2 separate regions of the Homo sapiens genome follow, and region 1 is linked to region 2. The links are contacts of gene promoters, found by promoter capture Hi-C in blood cells and fetal thymus (Javierre and others, 2016). All regions are on one chromosome and are shown on one strand. Each heading gives the region's core, a stretch centred on a gene start or on the middle of the fragment in contact. The rest is flanking DNA. Distances are from core to core; before and after follow the strand shown.

Evidence for each region. The method cuts DNA at HindIII sites, captures the fragments that hold promoters and counts their contacts. A CHiCAGO score of 5 or more calls a contact.
Region 1: a fragment that was not itself captured here is called in contact with the fragment with the promoter of ITK in region 2 in 7 of 17 cell types (non-activated CD4 T cells, activated CD4 T cells, naive CD4 T cells and 4 more); the score reaches 20.5 in non-activated CD4 T cells.

Annotation. Positions count from the first base shown.
Region 1 is chr5:157,222,270-157,229,631 of GRCh38, forward strand. It overlaps ITK (IL2 inducible T cell kinase), which reads left to right. Exons shown (of 17, transcript NM_005546.4): 6 at 594-745; 7 at 6,027-6,092. Among named protein-coding and RNA genes, the nearest start is that of CYFIP2, 40 kb to the right of the region's middle. RefSeq lists an enhancer at 409-468. The HindIII fragment of the contact is 2,123 bases long and covers 3,106-5,228 here.
Region 2 is chr5:157,178,764-157,185,692 of GRCh38, forward strand. It overlaps ITK (IL2 inducible T cell kinase), which reads left to right and starts at 2,077. Exons shown (of 17, transcript NM_005546.4): 1 at 2,077-2,352. The coding sequence starts at 2,215. The HindIII fragment of the contact is 39,229 bases long and covers 1-5,979 here.

The DNA.
Region 1 (7,362 bases), core at 2,917-5,416, 46 kb after region 2:
AGGGACTGAGGAACAGAGACATCAGCAATAGAGCCTACAGGAGAAGGAAGGGAGACAGGTGCTAGAGTAGAGAGAGTCTTAGGGCTAATTCAAGTGGTAGATTGGCCAGGTCCATTTCTCCATCTGGGCCTCAGTTTCCTCATCCTAAATGAAAAAGTGTATTAAGTGATCTGTTAGAGGAATTCCAGCTCCAATAACCTATGATTCCGTAGATCTAGATAAACCCACAAATCATATTAGTAAAGCACAAACTGAAAGATTTCATGTTGACTGCATCTCCTTTGCCAAGGGCATGATGCATCCAGCAGAGAGGCTGCTGCATATAACATAGTGCAGATAGAGAAACCAGCAGACTTTTGTGAAAATCACGTGGCTGCTTGGAATTCACTGTGGTCAGAATTTACCTCATAGAATGAGCAATGTGATGAATTCCAAGCACTGATGTCTTTGTGTCATGTTCAGCGCTGTAACTCTAACTCATAAAGAAAGTCTACCAGAGGAAGGCAGACTGTCTCCCCAGACACCCCGATGAAAGGAGGCATTTTACCTCCTTTTTTATGTCTTTGCTTGGTTTTGTTGTCTCTCTTCCCCAGCGACCACTTTGGGAACCTGAAGAAACTGTGGTCATTGCCTTATATGACTACCAAACCAATGATCCTCAGGAACTCGCACTGCGGCGCAACGAAGAGTACTGCCTGCTGGACAGTTCTGAGATTCACTGGTGGAGAGTCCAGGACAGGAATGGGTAAGTCATCTTTGTGGCTGCTGTCCCCGTGTTTGAGGTGTGGTGCGAACAAATAAAATACCAGGATGATTTGTCCTATCTCCCACAGTGTAACCACAGCACTGAGGTGGGAGAAGAGAGCAGAGGCAGAAGGAAGAGGGAGGAAGAGGAAGTAGTTGAGGCTCATTTTTCCTCTTCTCAGAAGTGGCTCTGAGGCAGTCACTTGCTATGCTTGTTCCCTGCACCCCATCTCAGGCACTCCAGACCCAAACTCATCTAAAAAACCCCCTGGATTTTTCCACTGACATCTACAATTTGGGAGCTTGGCAATTTGTTCTGCAAAGTGCTATTGTTCCTGAGTGTTAAGTGAGGCTGAAGGTACATCCCATTAGGAAGTGCTTATTTTTGGTGAAAAGAAAATGTGTGTATAGAGATGGTACAGATTGATAGTTATGTTAGGACGCATCAGAAAGAAGACACTAAAGATTTAGTTACAATCGCAGTCATTGAACTAGCCATCCACATGACTCAGGGAGAAAATAAGGTTGTACAAATACTACTTTCCCACTATGCAACTTTTGAATGAAAAAAATACCAAGCATGAGATTCACACTGCCTTTTAAGGTTTTTTTTTCCTCTTAATATATCCGATGTATTAACCCATGCTCTGGAATATTTTCCAGAATCTGAGTTCAATAGTTGCATCAATCCAGCCATAAATGTACTCTAAATTGCAAATTCCCTTGTTGAACACTTAGGTTATCTCCAATATTTTGCAAATATTAACAACACTGCAACGAACATCTTTGTATATTAATATTAGGGGTTTAAATGTTTTCAAGGTATGAGGTTATTATTAATTTTAAAGTATAAAAAAGAAAACTGTCCTTGCAACATATAGATCATTTATGTCAACATTTTACTTAACTAACAGTAGAGAGAAATATACATAAAAAATAAGCCACCCTCCATTTGCCCCCACATCAAGTCCAAAAGTAATCACTATTTGGCCGGGTGCACTGGCTCACGCCTGTAATCCCAGCAGTTTGGGAGGCCAAGGTGAGTGCATCACTTGAGGCCAGGAGTTTGAGACCAGCCTGGCCAACATGGTGAAACCCTGTCTCTACTAAAAATACAAAAATTAGCATGGTGTGGTGGCTCAAGCCTGTAATCCCAGCTACTCCACTGGCTGAAGCATGAAAATCACTTGAACCCAGGAGGGAGAGGTTGCAGTGAGCCAAGATGGTGCCACTTCACTCTAGCCTGAGCGACAGAGCAAGACTCTGTCTCAAAAAAAAAAAAAAAGTGATCACTATTAATACCTTCTTGTGTATCATAAATAAAAGTTATACCTGTGCAAATGCATCCTTTTTTCACTTGTACCAAGTGGATCCATTCTGTTCTGCATCTTGCTTTTAATTTTTAATGATATTAATACACATTGAAGATCTTTTCATACCAGCACATGCAAATCTACCTCATTTTTAAAATAGTTGCATGGGCCGGCCGCAGTGGCTCAGGCCTGTAATCCCAGCACTTTGATTGGGAGGCCAAGGTGGGCTGATCACCTGAGGTCAGGAGTTCAAGACCAACCTGGCCAACATGGTGAAACCCCATCTCTACTAAAAATACAAGAAATTAGCTGGGTGTGGTGGCAGGCGCCTGTGATTCCAGCTACTCGGGAGGCTGGGGCAGGAGAATCGCTTGAACCTGGGAGGTGGAGGTTGCAGTGGGCCAAGCTCACACCACTGCACTCCAGCCTGGGAGACAGAATGAGAATCCATCTCAAAAATAATCATAATAATAATAATTGCACAATCTTAGAATGTATGATTGTATTATTAGTATTTAAATAATCCTTTATGGTGAGACATTTAGTTGCCAGTTTATTTGTTTCCTCTGCTGTTTCAAACAAGGCTTTAATGAAGATCTTGTATTCATGTATCTTGGCCATCTTTGGAATACAAACATATATATATGATATATATTTATCACATTAGTTTTCCTTTTCTTTTTTTTGAGACAGGGTCTTGCTCTGTCACCCAGGTTGGAGCACAGTGGCACTCTCACAGTTCACTGCAGCCTTGACCTCTCAGGCTCAAGTGATCCTCCCATCTCAGACCCCTACAGAGCTGAGACTATAGGCACGCACCACCATGCCCAGATAATTTTTGAATTTTTTGTAGAAATGGGGTCTCATTATGTTGCCCGGGCTTGTCTCAAACTACTGTACTCGAGAAATTCTCCCGCTTTAGCCTCCCAAAGTAGTTGGGATTACAGGCATAAGCCACCATACCTGGCCTATATGTCACATTTCTAACTGTGCAACAGTTAAGTCAGAGTATGTGATATCTTAATTTTGCCACATAATTTCCTCACAAAGCTTGCCAAATTTACCTTCCTGCTAACAGAGTTATGGAAGTGCCAAGACTGGGTATCATTGAACTTTTAAAAAAAGTCAATCTGATGGGTTAAAAAAAAAAAAGAGGGGCACAAATATCTTTAAGGATAAGACTTTACCTTTTACATACACCAGAATTTACATTTTCAAGGTGCCTTCTCTTTAAGTAGGCTTATCAACCCCATTACAGGGGGAGGAAAGACAGAAGTGAGACAGGGTAAAACGTGATGAGATTCAGAACCATGGTTTGAGAGGCAGTGTGGTTTGCTAGCTAAGAACAGACCCCAACTCCCCTCGTCTGGAACCTCCCTTTCTAGTTGATTCATGAAGACAATTGAGCTAGTCACATCACCTTCTCTCTGTCCATTATAGACAGGCCCATATCCGAAATAGGTTCAAGACTGTCTACAGGGTCTACAAACACCGAAGGGACCTAGAAATTCATTAGTTCAATCAACTGACTTTACTTAGCACACCTAATGTACCAGGAAATTTGTTCTCCTAGGCCTTACTTCCCCAAATGAGAGTTAAACCCTTCATTTGGTGACCTGTGGAAAGGCTTAACTATGCACTTCAAAGGGCATCAAAGAGGACACCCCAGCAGCCAGTCAGCATTATGGGAATTTCCCCAGTTTGCTTTGTGATAGTGTGGTATAGTGGAAAGCACACAAGATGGGGAGACAGAGGACTTGGACTTTATCAGCTACTCTTGTCATATGAAGCTGAGGATTCACAGATGACCATGTCATATGTGTGACCATGTCATTCACAGATGACCAAGTCACTTTTCCTCTGTGAATCCATTTCGTGAACTGTAAAATGCAGCTGATAATGTCAGCTTTGTCTACGTCACAGTGTTGAGAAAATCAATGAGATAATGGAAGTGAAAGAGCTTTGGAAATTCTACATATCCACATACAACTATGAGAGTTACCATTTGTGTAGATGACCCAGCTTTGGGTGGCATATGCTATTCAAAAGCAAAATATTATTTGATGCATTAATATAATTGTAAAAGTATAGTATGGCAAAAGTAGACATAATTAAGGGAATTCCAAGAGTGATACAGAAGGAATGGCAAATTTCAGAATAAGCTGACTTTCTTCCGTTGGAATGGCTGCCTTGAGCACTGTATGAAGGATGATTCTGAGGGCAGATGTCCAATTCTCCAAAGAAAGTATGCCATGATTGATTAGCAATGTCTGCCAGAGGAGTAAAATATAAGATGATCATCCTGTATTTGGCACCTACAGTCTTGATTTCTTCACTCTTCACAACTCTGAACTGATTACACATTTCCCATAAACATAATCACTAGATTGAAAATTGGCCTTATTATAAGAAAATTAAAACATGTTATGGAATAAAGAGCAATAAACTATCAGGCATCTTTTTTTGTTTTGTTTTGTTTTTTTGTTTTTTTGAGACAGAGTCTTGCTCTGTCACCCAGGCCAGAGTGCAGTGGCACGATCTCAGCTCATGGCAACCTCCACACCACTGCCCCCACCCGCCACCACCCAGGTTAGGTGAGTCTCATGCCTCAATCTCCCAAGTAGCTGAGACTACAGGTGCATGCCACCACACCTGGCTAATTTTTATATATTTTCTAGAGACAGGGTTTCACCATGTTGCCCAGGTTTGTCTCAAACTCCTGAGCTCAAGTGATCCACCCACCTCAGCCTCCCAAAGTACTAGGATTACAGGTGTGAGCCACCACACCCAGCCTATCAGTCATCTTTTTACAGATTGACAGAGTATGGAGTATCTACTTAAACTAGATTTTAAGTATAATATAGTTTAAGCCCTTCATTTGACGGGTATAAAGTCAGAGGTCCAGAGAGTAGAAGGGATGCCGCTTTCACCCTGTGGTATTAAATGAGATAATGAATGTGAAAGTGCTTTGAAAACTACAAAGTTATACACAAATGTAAAGAAGTTTGATATTCTTATTTTGTTTATTATGTTTTTTGTTTATGCACAATTATTAATTCTTGCTCAAAAGTGACTCCTGATCCCCAAATCTAGCCTGGCTTTATCCTTTTTTTCTCGTGTTTATACCGTTCATATCTGAAGAAGCTCAATTAGGGAGGCCTTAAATTAAAAAGCTTACAATGCCAACTGGTAGTGTCTTTTAGAATCTGTGGTTGGAAAGTCATCTTTTATATTTTAATTATTTTGGTTTCCTGACTATAAAATGATAGTACTAAAGTGGAAAAAATGTTGATTATCACACAAAAATGTTTCCTTATAGAAAATAGACACTGAATATTAATCTTTTTTTCCAGTAGAGGAAATTTCACAATGAGGAGAACAGCAAACAGAGCTTTTTAAGTAAAATCGCCACTTCTTTTTTTATTATGTTTCATATTTCAGTAGTGAAATCAACCTGCCTTTAACAGACAAGTTGCTATTATTTTTTACCAATTCCTTTTTTTTTTTTTTTTTTTTTTTTTTGAGACAGAGTCTCGCTCTGTTGCCCAGGCTGGAGAGCAGTGGCACGATCTCGGCTCACTGCACCCTCCACCTCCTGGGTTCAAGCGATTCTTGTGCCTCAGCCTCCCGAGTAGCTGGGACTACAGGCATGTACCACCACACCCGGCTAATTTTTTTGTGTGTGTGTAGTTTTAGTAGAGACAGGGTTTCAGCATATTGGCCAGGCTGGTCTCAAACTCTTGACCTCGTGATCCACCTGCCTCGGCCTCCAAAAGTGCTGGGATTACAGGCATGAGCCACCGCCCCCGGCCTACCAATTCTTGTATTCTAAACTTTAAAATGTCTTATCGCAAATGCCAAATAATGTGATATTCCCCAATCTTTAAATGACTTTTAATGGATTAAACCTATAAAATGATATAAAACTTAGTTCTATGTAAGTCTAAACATTAATTTTCCTTTTAACAGGCATGAAGGATATGTACCAAGCAGTTATCTGGTGGAAAAATCTCCAAATAATCTGGAAACCTATGAGTAAGATATTTTATTTGTTTTTGGAAAATACAGTCCTAAGGAATCCTCCTTAAGTTAGGAATAAATTATTGGTTGACTGTAAAAATACCAGATGATCCCTACTGCAACAGCAATGTTCACACATACCATCCAGCTCTTGATACCTAAATAAGGCTTTCCACTAAAAAAACCAGGACTTTCTGGAGAAAAGGCTTGGGGTAGGGATAGAACAAAAAGGAACTTGGAACATCTTTTTGTGCCAGAAAGTAAAGAAGTACTTAAAAAGAAATTTTTCTTCTTTAATTTTTTTTTTTGAGACAGGGTCTCACTGTCACCCAGGCTGGAGTGCAATAGTGTGATCTCGGCTCATCGCAACCTCAACCTACTGGGCTCAAGCAATCCTCAGCCTCCCAAGTAGCTGGAACTACAGGCACATGCCACCATGTCCAGCTAATTTGTAAATTTTTTGTAGAGACAGGATCTCACTAGGTTGCCCAGGCTGGTCTTTAACTTCCGGGCTCTAGTGATCCTCCCATTATGGCCTCCCAAACTGCTGGGATCACAGGTATGAACCGCTGTGCCCAGACAAAAAGATGTGGGCGTGTCAGATGAGCACAGAAGTTGGCTCTAACAGGCTCCATTTGATGAAATCTGGGACAATTTGAGTATCAAAATAAATAATGACTATTAAAATAAGTAATAGACTACAAACCATTGAATAATATAAGAATCTGTAATAAATAGATAGACTGATAGATAAATAAAGAAGTAAATAAATAAAAAGGAAAGGGTTTTTTCTTATAGTAGAATGCCAACTAATGAATGATAAAGTTTAAAAATCATCATTTTGTAACCCAGAGTATCAACTGATTCAGGCAAGAATCCTCAATGAATGTCACCACTAGCAAGTTAAAGTTTGATGAGCTGTGGCATATTTACATAGTCTCAAAGTATCTCCTCACAAATCACTTGTAATTACAAAGTGGAGGTAACTAGCAGGCCCGTCTGAAACAGTCAATCCAAATGCACATAAATAATGGAGCAAAAAGGTATCTTGTGTCTCCTTATGTGATGCACTGAGAAGGGCACACATCACTTCTGTGATATTCCTGCTCAAAAAATGCACAACATAAATTTACTTATAAGGATATATTCATAAGGATATATTAGACAAATCCAAATTAGGGAATATTCTCTAAAATTAATGTCCTGGGCTCTTCAAAAAAAAATGTTAATATCAGGAAAGACACAACAGGCTGAGAAATTGGTCCACATTAAAAAAGACTAAAGA
Region 2 (6,929 bases), core at 827-3,326:
AAGGTTGGGATGCTTTTTTCAATTCTCTTTTGAACTCATTGTTTTAACATTTTTGCTGTTCTTCAATTCATGGCAATTATTATTCCTTTTGATACTCAAATTGTTCCATCTTTGGCAAGTGGGAACTCCTTGAATTTGGCTCCTATGAAGTGAACTTTTTAAAACCAAAACAAACAAAGGGACTATTTGTTTTTGTTTATGTTTTCCTTAAAGTGAGAAAAAAATATTGAGCCTCCTAAGTTTGCATTTAAAAGTTGGCAAAGATGAGTCTCAGTTAGTGGGTTTGATGGCTCTATGAGAAAGAGAATAAAATTACTTACGATGACACTCCATGTAGACTGAGCAAACGAAAGACTCCTAAGTATTGCAACAGCTACTGATGATATTTTGTTTTCCCGGATGAGAACACTTTGTGAAGTCTATAACTCTTTTCATCTGAACCAAGCAGGTGTAAAATGTACTTTCCTCAGAGGAGTTTGTAGTCTAGTTTGAGAAGATAGCACTGTATTATCTAGGTTTGCTGGTAGTGACAGAAACCTCAAAATAACTGAGACTTAGAAAATAGATATTAAAAAATGTAATCCAGGGCTGGCATGGAAGATCCATGGTCACCAGGGTCCCAGGCTCTTTCTATCTTATACTCCATTGTCCTCAACATTCAATTTCCACCTCATGATACTAGATAGCTGCTTCAGCTCCAACTGTTACCTCAATATTCTAGTCACAAGGCAGGAGGAAAAGGGAAAGAAAAGGGGATGACAGATCCCACTAAGGAAATTTCCTAGAAGTTGTGCACACGACTTCTGCTACATTCAGTTGACCAGAAGACAGTCATACAACTACACCTAGCTACAAGGGAGGCTAAAATTTGTAGTCTTTATTCTTGCTGGCCAGATGCCCAGATAACTGTCAGGGATTCTGTTACTCTAGTAAGAAGGAGAGAGTAGCTATTTGGGAATAGTAGCAATCCCTACCTCAAGCCCATACTCAGAAAAAAAAAATACTATCTTGTTTGGGCAGTGTATTTCCACACATATGTCTTAAGAATCTCAGAATGGGGGAGGTAATTTAAAATATACCAGTACCGTACCCTCCTGGGTGTCTTGATTATGCTGGGGCATCCAGTATATGAAATAAAATTAGGCTGTTGTCTGGTAATTTACATTTAAAAATAAACATTGGAGAATTTCACTCCTATACAGCAATAATTATTATTTCATTTATTATTTATCCCTACCCACTACATGCAATATCTGCTTACACTAAAATCTCTTGATTATTAACATAGTAGAGGTAACTGTCACACATTATACTTCAACTATGTACTAACTCTAAGGTGACATGTATGACTAGCACCTACCATTCATAAGATGTATGGGATTCAGTCCTCCAAAGGACCCTCACAAGGAAGCTAAGGATCAGAGAAGTCATGGCTTGCTCAAAGAGAAACAGCATAGTAAGTGACAGAGCTGGGAATCCAACACAAGTTTGTCTGTTTTCAAAGCCCACATATACTTTGTTTATTATGCCATTCTGAAGGATTCACTTATTTTTCACTCTTCCACAAAACGTCAGGACAGAAAGGCAGTCATCTATATGTAGCATTGAGAAATTTCTATGGGCTTTAATTTAAATCTTAAAAACTAATAAACTTCAGCAACATATTTCTTCACTTTAATGTGTGAGGGTTTTGTGCTCATTACCTCTTTTAATTGTCCAACCCAATTTGGTGATGATCCATTCAACAAATTTTTCTTGAACATCTGTTTTATGTGTCAGGTACTGTGATGGTTGCTGAGTATATCATGGTAAGCAAAACCACACATTGTCCTTACTCCTTGTGCTACATGATTTAACTGCTGGATGGATTAAACCAGGAACTATAAAGATTAAACTGTAATCCTTACCACAATTTTGAGTTTACAGTTTTTCAAATATCATTTCAAGCCATTAGCAAAGGCTGTATGTATTTTTTACATATGCCTCCTCGTTTTGTGAATTTTGAAAGGATGTGGTTTCGGCCTTTGACATCAGAGGAGAAGCTCAGCTATGTTGGCTGAACGTTGATAGAAAGATAACGTTGAAGGCAAGTTGCCCTTGAGCAGCTCTCTGAAGATCAACTGCCTCCACATTGCATTCTTTGCCCCAAAACTCTTTCCTTTGGTTGTGCTAAGAGGTGATGCCCAAGGTGCACCACCTTTCAAGAACTGGATCATGAACAACTTTATCCTCCTGGAAGAACAGCTCATCAAGAAATCCCAACAAAAGAGAAGAACTTCTCCCTCGAACTTTAAAGTCCGCTTCTTTGTGTTAACCAAAGCCAGCCTGGCATACTTTGAAGATCGTCATGGGGTATGTGAGCAGTTTCATTTGTCTTTTTTCGCATAGCATTTTATGTTTGGACTGGGCTAATGCAAAAATATATACATAGCATAAAATAGAGCACAGGAAACACAAACATGCTTATTGTAACAACATAAAAAGTACAGTAAAAGTAATCAGAGGAGAATGCAGAGAGCAGTCAAGAGGTGAAATGGTGGTGCTAGGTGATTTCAGTTCTAAAAACTGTAAATTTAACATTCATCAGCTTTTTCCCCCTGCAAGGTTATGTTTGGTTTTTAAATTATGAATAACATTTTAGGTAGCAAGTATTATGATTCGATAAAACTTGAACTTTCTATGAAACATACTAAATTTAATGAAACATACTAAATTTAATGAAACATAGATTAATACAACACTAGCATTCAATGGGATGATCTACCCCAGCTTTCTTATTTTTTAGTGGAAGAAACTGGTGTTTAGAATGGTTAAGTTTTGGGTTCAGTGTTAACGTTTTCATGAATAACTCTGTTTGTCTCAATACTCGTCGCTAGCCTGATCTTGAAATAAGATTTCCCAGGCATTTAATTATCTAAAAGTTGTAAGGCACAATGGCAAACCTCTTCATCTCTTGATAGACTTCTTAGGACACCAGGGTTATTAAGAACAAAGTTTCTGCAGTGCAGACCAGCGGTTCTTACCCAGAAGGAGTATGGCTGCTTTGCTAGGTCAGTCTATCTCTTTATCTAAAAATAGTCTTGTGCTTCTTAACATCACTAATAACAAAAGCAACAGGAATAATCCTAATAATGTAGTTTGGTAGAAAAAGCATTGGACAAAGGGTCAGGAGACCAAACTCTACTTCTCAGTAGGTGATCCAGTCTGGGCAAATGTCTACCTCCTGTTTCAGGTTCTTTCTTCATAAAATGAAAAAACTGGAAATAACAACCTTCAAGATCCCTTTCTTCTTCAAAACTTCTTTGCTTTATGCAGTGGCTCTTGTTTAGCCCTATGCTGCAATTTTTCAAAGCATGTTTGATTTCTTACTGTATGGTTATATTATTTTTACATCATTAGTGGGGTAGGACAAGGATTATCACTTATATTTTACTGAAGGGAAAATAATATTAGGTGCCTGATGGTCACTTAGAAACAAAAGTGCTCCAGTTCTTTGTTGGAGTCTGACTTAGTAGGTGGTGGCATGAGTTTGGGATTCTTTGGTGTGCCAGGGTTTAAAGCACTTCATGAGATGGAGCTCCAGAGGAGGTCAGGCTGGGTATAGAGCCTATGGATGCCTCACTTTTTAAAGTTGCAGGTGTTGCATGTCTTTTGTGAATTAAAAAAATACAGAAAACAAAAAAGTTGCAGGCGAAATAGCTCTGCCTCTTTAGAAGTGAAAAGAATTGCTTGTCTTATTATCAGACTCTTACTGATAACAATTTACCAGTCAATCAGAAAACACATGGAATTACGTGCAAGTCCTCTTTGCTAGGTGGCCAGGAGCCCAGTTTGTGAACTTGGGGGATTTATCATGTAGAGCTAATAAATCGCATGGCATTACTCAATGCTTTTTTGTGAATGGAACATTTAAAGTTTTTGTTTCATATTGAAAGAACAGTCATGTACCTTTAAATATTTTTTTCAAAGTCCATTTTGCAGTTTTCACCAGTTCGTTTTTCTGATTCAACATAGTATCATCTCATTTAGTTAGTATTAATAATTCCTTAGCCCAACTGCTATTTGTGAACTGATTGTGAATTCAGCTCAATATTATTTGTAAGTAATCACAAAACCAGATGGCCTTAATTCAGAATATTATTGGTCATAATTTGCATGTAGACAAGGTTGTAAAATCACCCTACTTCTTTATCTGAGCATTATGGAAAATTTCAAGACAATTACTTCATTCTGGGGAGCCCTAGGCTACAGTTTCTAATTCTTCCATGTGAGATATAGAGAATACATGTCCAAACATCAAATTTCTTGTTTTCTAATGCCTTTTTTACTCTTATAAATAACATTTTAAAAGTATTTCTTTAATTATTTAATTATTATAGAAGTTTATTAATTAGAAATTTATCCAAGTTCCCTGAAAAAGGTAATATATGTGAATTATTATTGTTCATGTCTTAGGTATACTACATGGTTTCAGGCCACCAATTTGCACACAAGGCTGCATTAATATTACTCATAAGTAAATAACATTACACTTATGGGAAGAACATTTTCATTTTTAAATTAAAGGCTTCATTTTCAATCTGTAAAATGGGTGTGATAATAGTACCCATTTCATAGGAAGATGGCAAAGACTCAGAGGTATAATGTCTTTAGGCTGAACTTTTTGAAATTATTTGGCAGATCGAATATCAGATATTAGAAGTTTCAAACAATTCAACTTAATATATTAGGTACTTAGCATAGGCCCTGTCATCTGGTAAGCATCTAGTAAAAATTAACCATTATTTGTATCCCTTTCATGTCTCTACAGAAGCTAGCAGGCTGTCATAACAATTCATTTTCAAATTATGGGAGATATTCAAGGATTCTTCAAAGTCAAGCTAAGATCAGGGTCCTGGATTCCTTCTATTCTGTGGCTAAATATAAGTTTTGTGGGGTAGATATACATGCATTATGAGCTGTTTGGCCAGTTATTGCCCCTCTTAGGGTGTCGGGTGTCAGAGCTTCTTTTTCTCTTTTCTCATGTGTAAAATTATGATTCTTGCAGTTCTCATATTCTATGAATTTATAACACCATATGAAAAATAACCCTTCTACATACTCAAGAACATATTCTGTAATTCTAGAAATCAAGTATGTTTATTCTAACCTAAAAAATCATGCCTATTGTCATTATAATACTAATTGATTGAGGTTTTACTTTAACATGGTTTTAGTTCTGGTGTTCGATGCCTGTTTTTCCTGTTGAGATGTGCAAGTGTTTTCAGAGGGGCCAAGAAGCGCCTTCATCTTGCTGGAGCAGTGGGCCAGAAAGAAGCATAGATTTGGCAGGTGGTAGCTTGCAGACAGACATGATTTCAGAGGCTCTCCTGTGCCTGTCAATTTTTTTCCAAGTTGTCCCTGATGCCTGAAATTCTATGACAGAGGACAATGAGAGATAAGGGCACATGGATGTCCTGGTAAATGCTTAGGAATCCGAGTACAGGGCTTGTTGGAGAGCCCTGATTCATAGTGTTTGCCAATTCCTTTGGTGTAAATATTCCCATCATGGCCCATTTTAAACTACCAATGTGATGTCTGCTGGCTCACAGATTCCTGAAAACTTAACAATTAGCTACCTCGGGCCAGTACAAGCCGAGTCCAGCACACCGTCGGCAAGCCTAAGTACAAATGATCCTTGGAGAGGTAGCCACCAACTAAACAGCATACTTAGTTGCATGTGACTGATATCGGATCCTTTTCAGCGGTAAAGGGAAAATGGAGAGCCTCAGGCACTTTGAGTAAGCACAGGATGGAAGAGGCAGCCTAAATGGGAATAAAGCATCATAGATTGGTGTGGCTCACGTGGCCACTTTCTAGATGTGGGATCTCAGACCAGACACTTGACCTCTTTCTGCCTGTGTCCTATTTGTAAAGTAAGGACCCCAACACTACCTACTTCAAGTGATGTTGAGTATTTCATGAGAAAAGTATGTTATAAGCTTTTTACCAATTGCTACATGGTAAGGTGATTATTACTCACAATTTTGCCCAAGCACCACCTTGGTCTTCTGAAAGCCCCTCTGGAGAACTGGAAAGGTTCTCCTATTTTGATGACTCTTTGCCCCTTAGGGATCAAGTGTGCTGTGCTCCTTATGATGTGGGAGGCATTATCATTTACATGGAACAAGAGAAACAGTCAAGATCACCATTCCAGTAAGCATCTGGGTGAGGGTCTCCACTCCTCATGGCCTTTTCCCTTTAGCCTACAGTCTTATCTAGCAACAGAACCATCTCCTGCTTGCAGCAAGCATCCTTTCTAAATTAAAGATGGTAGGTGGGGAGATGGTCCCCTTTCCTTGCTTTTGAAAGCATTACTGCTAGTGATCACAAACACTGCTTCTGGAATCAGACAGATCTGGGTCAAAAACTAGCTCACATTTGATCTGTGTGATTTTGTATAAATTATATAATGCTGTGCAATTCTCTAAAAAGCTATCTTTTTTTTTTTTTTTAGACAGAGTCTTGCTGTGTCACCCAGGCTGGAGCACAGTGGTGCCACCTTGGTTCACTGCAACCTCTGCCTCCCAGGTTCAAGTGATTCCTCTGCCTCAGCCTCTTGAGTAGCTGGAACTACGGGTGCGCGCCATCATGCTTGGCTAATTTTTGTATTTTTTTTTAGTAGAGACGGGGTTTCACCATATTGGCCAGCTGGTCTCGAACTCCTGACCTCATGGTCTGCCCACCTCGGCCTCCCAAAGTGCTGGGATTACAGATGTGAGCCATCGCGCCTGGCCTATGTTTTTAAAATAATTAAGCAAGGCCAGACACAGAGACTCACGCCTGCAATCCCAACATTTTGGGAGGCCTAGGTGGGCGGATCACTTGAGCCCAGGAATTTGAAACCAGCCTGGGCAACATGGTGAGACTCCGTCTCCACAAAAAAAAAA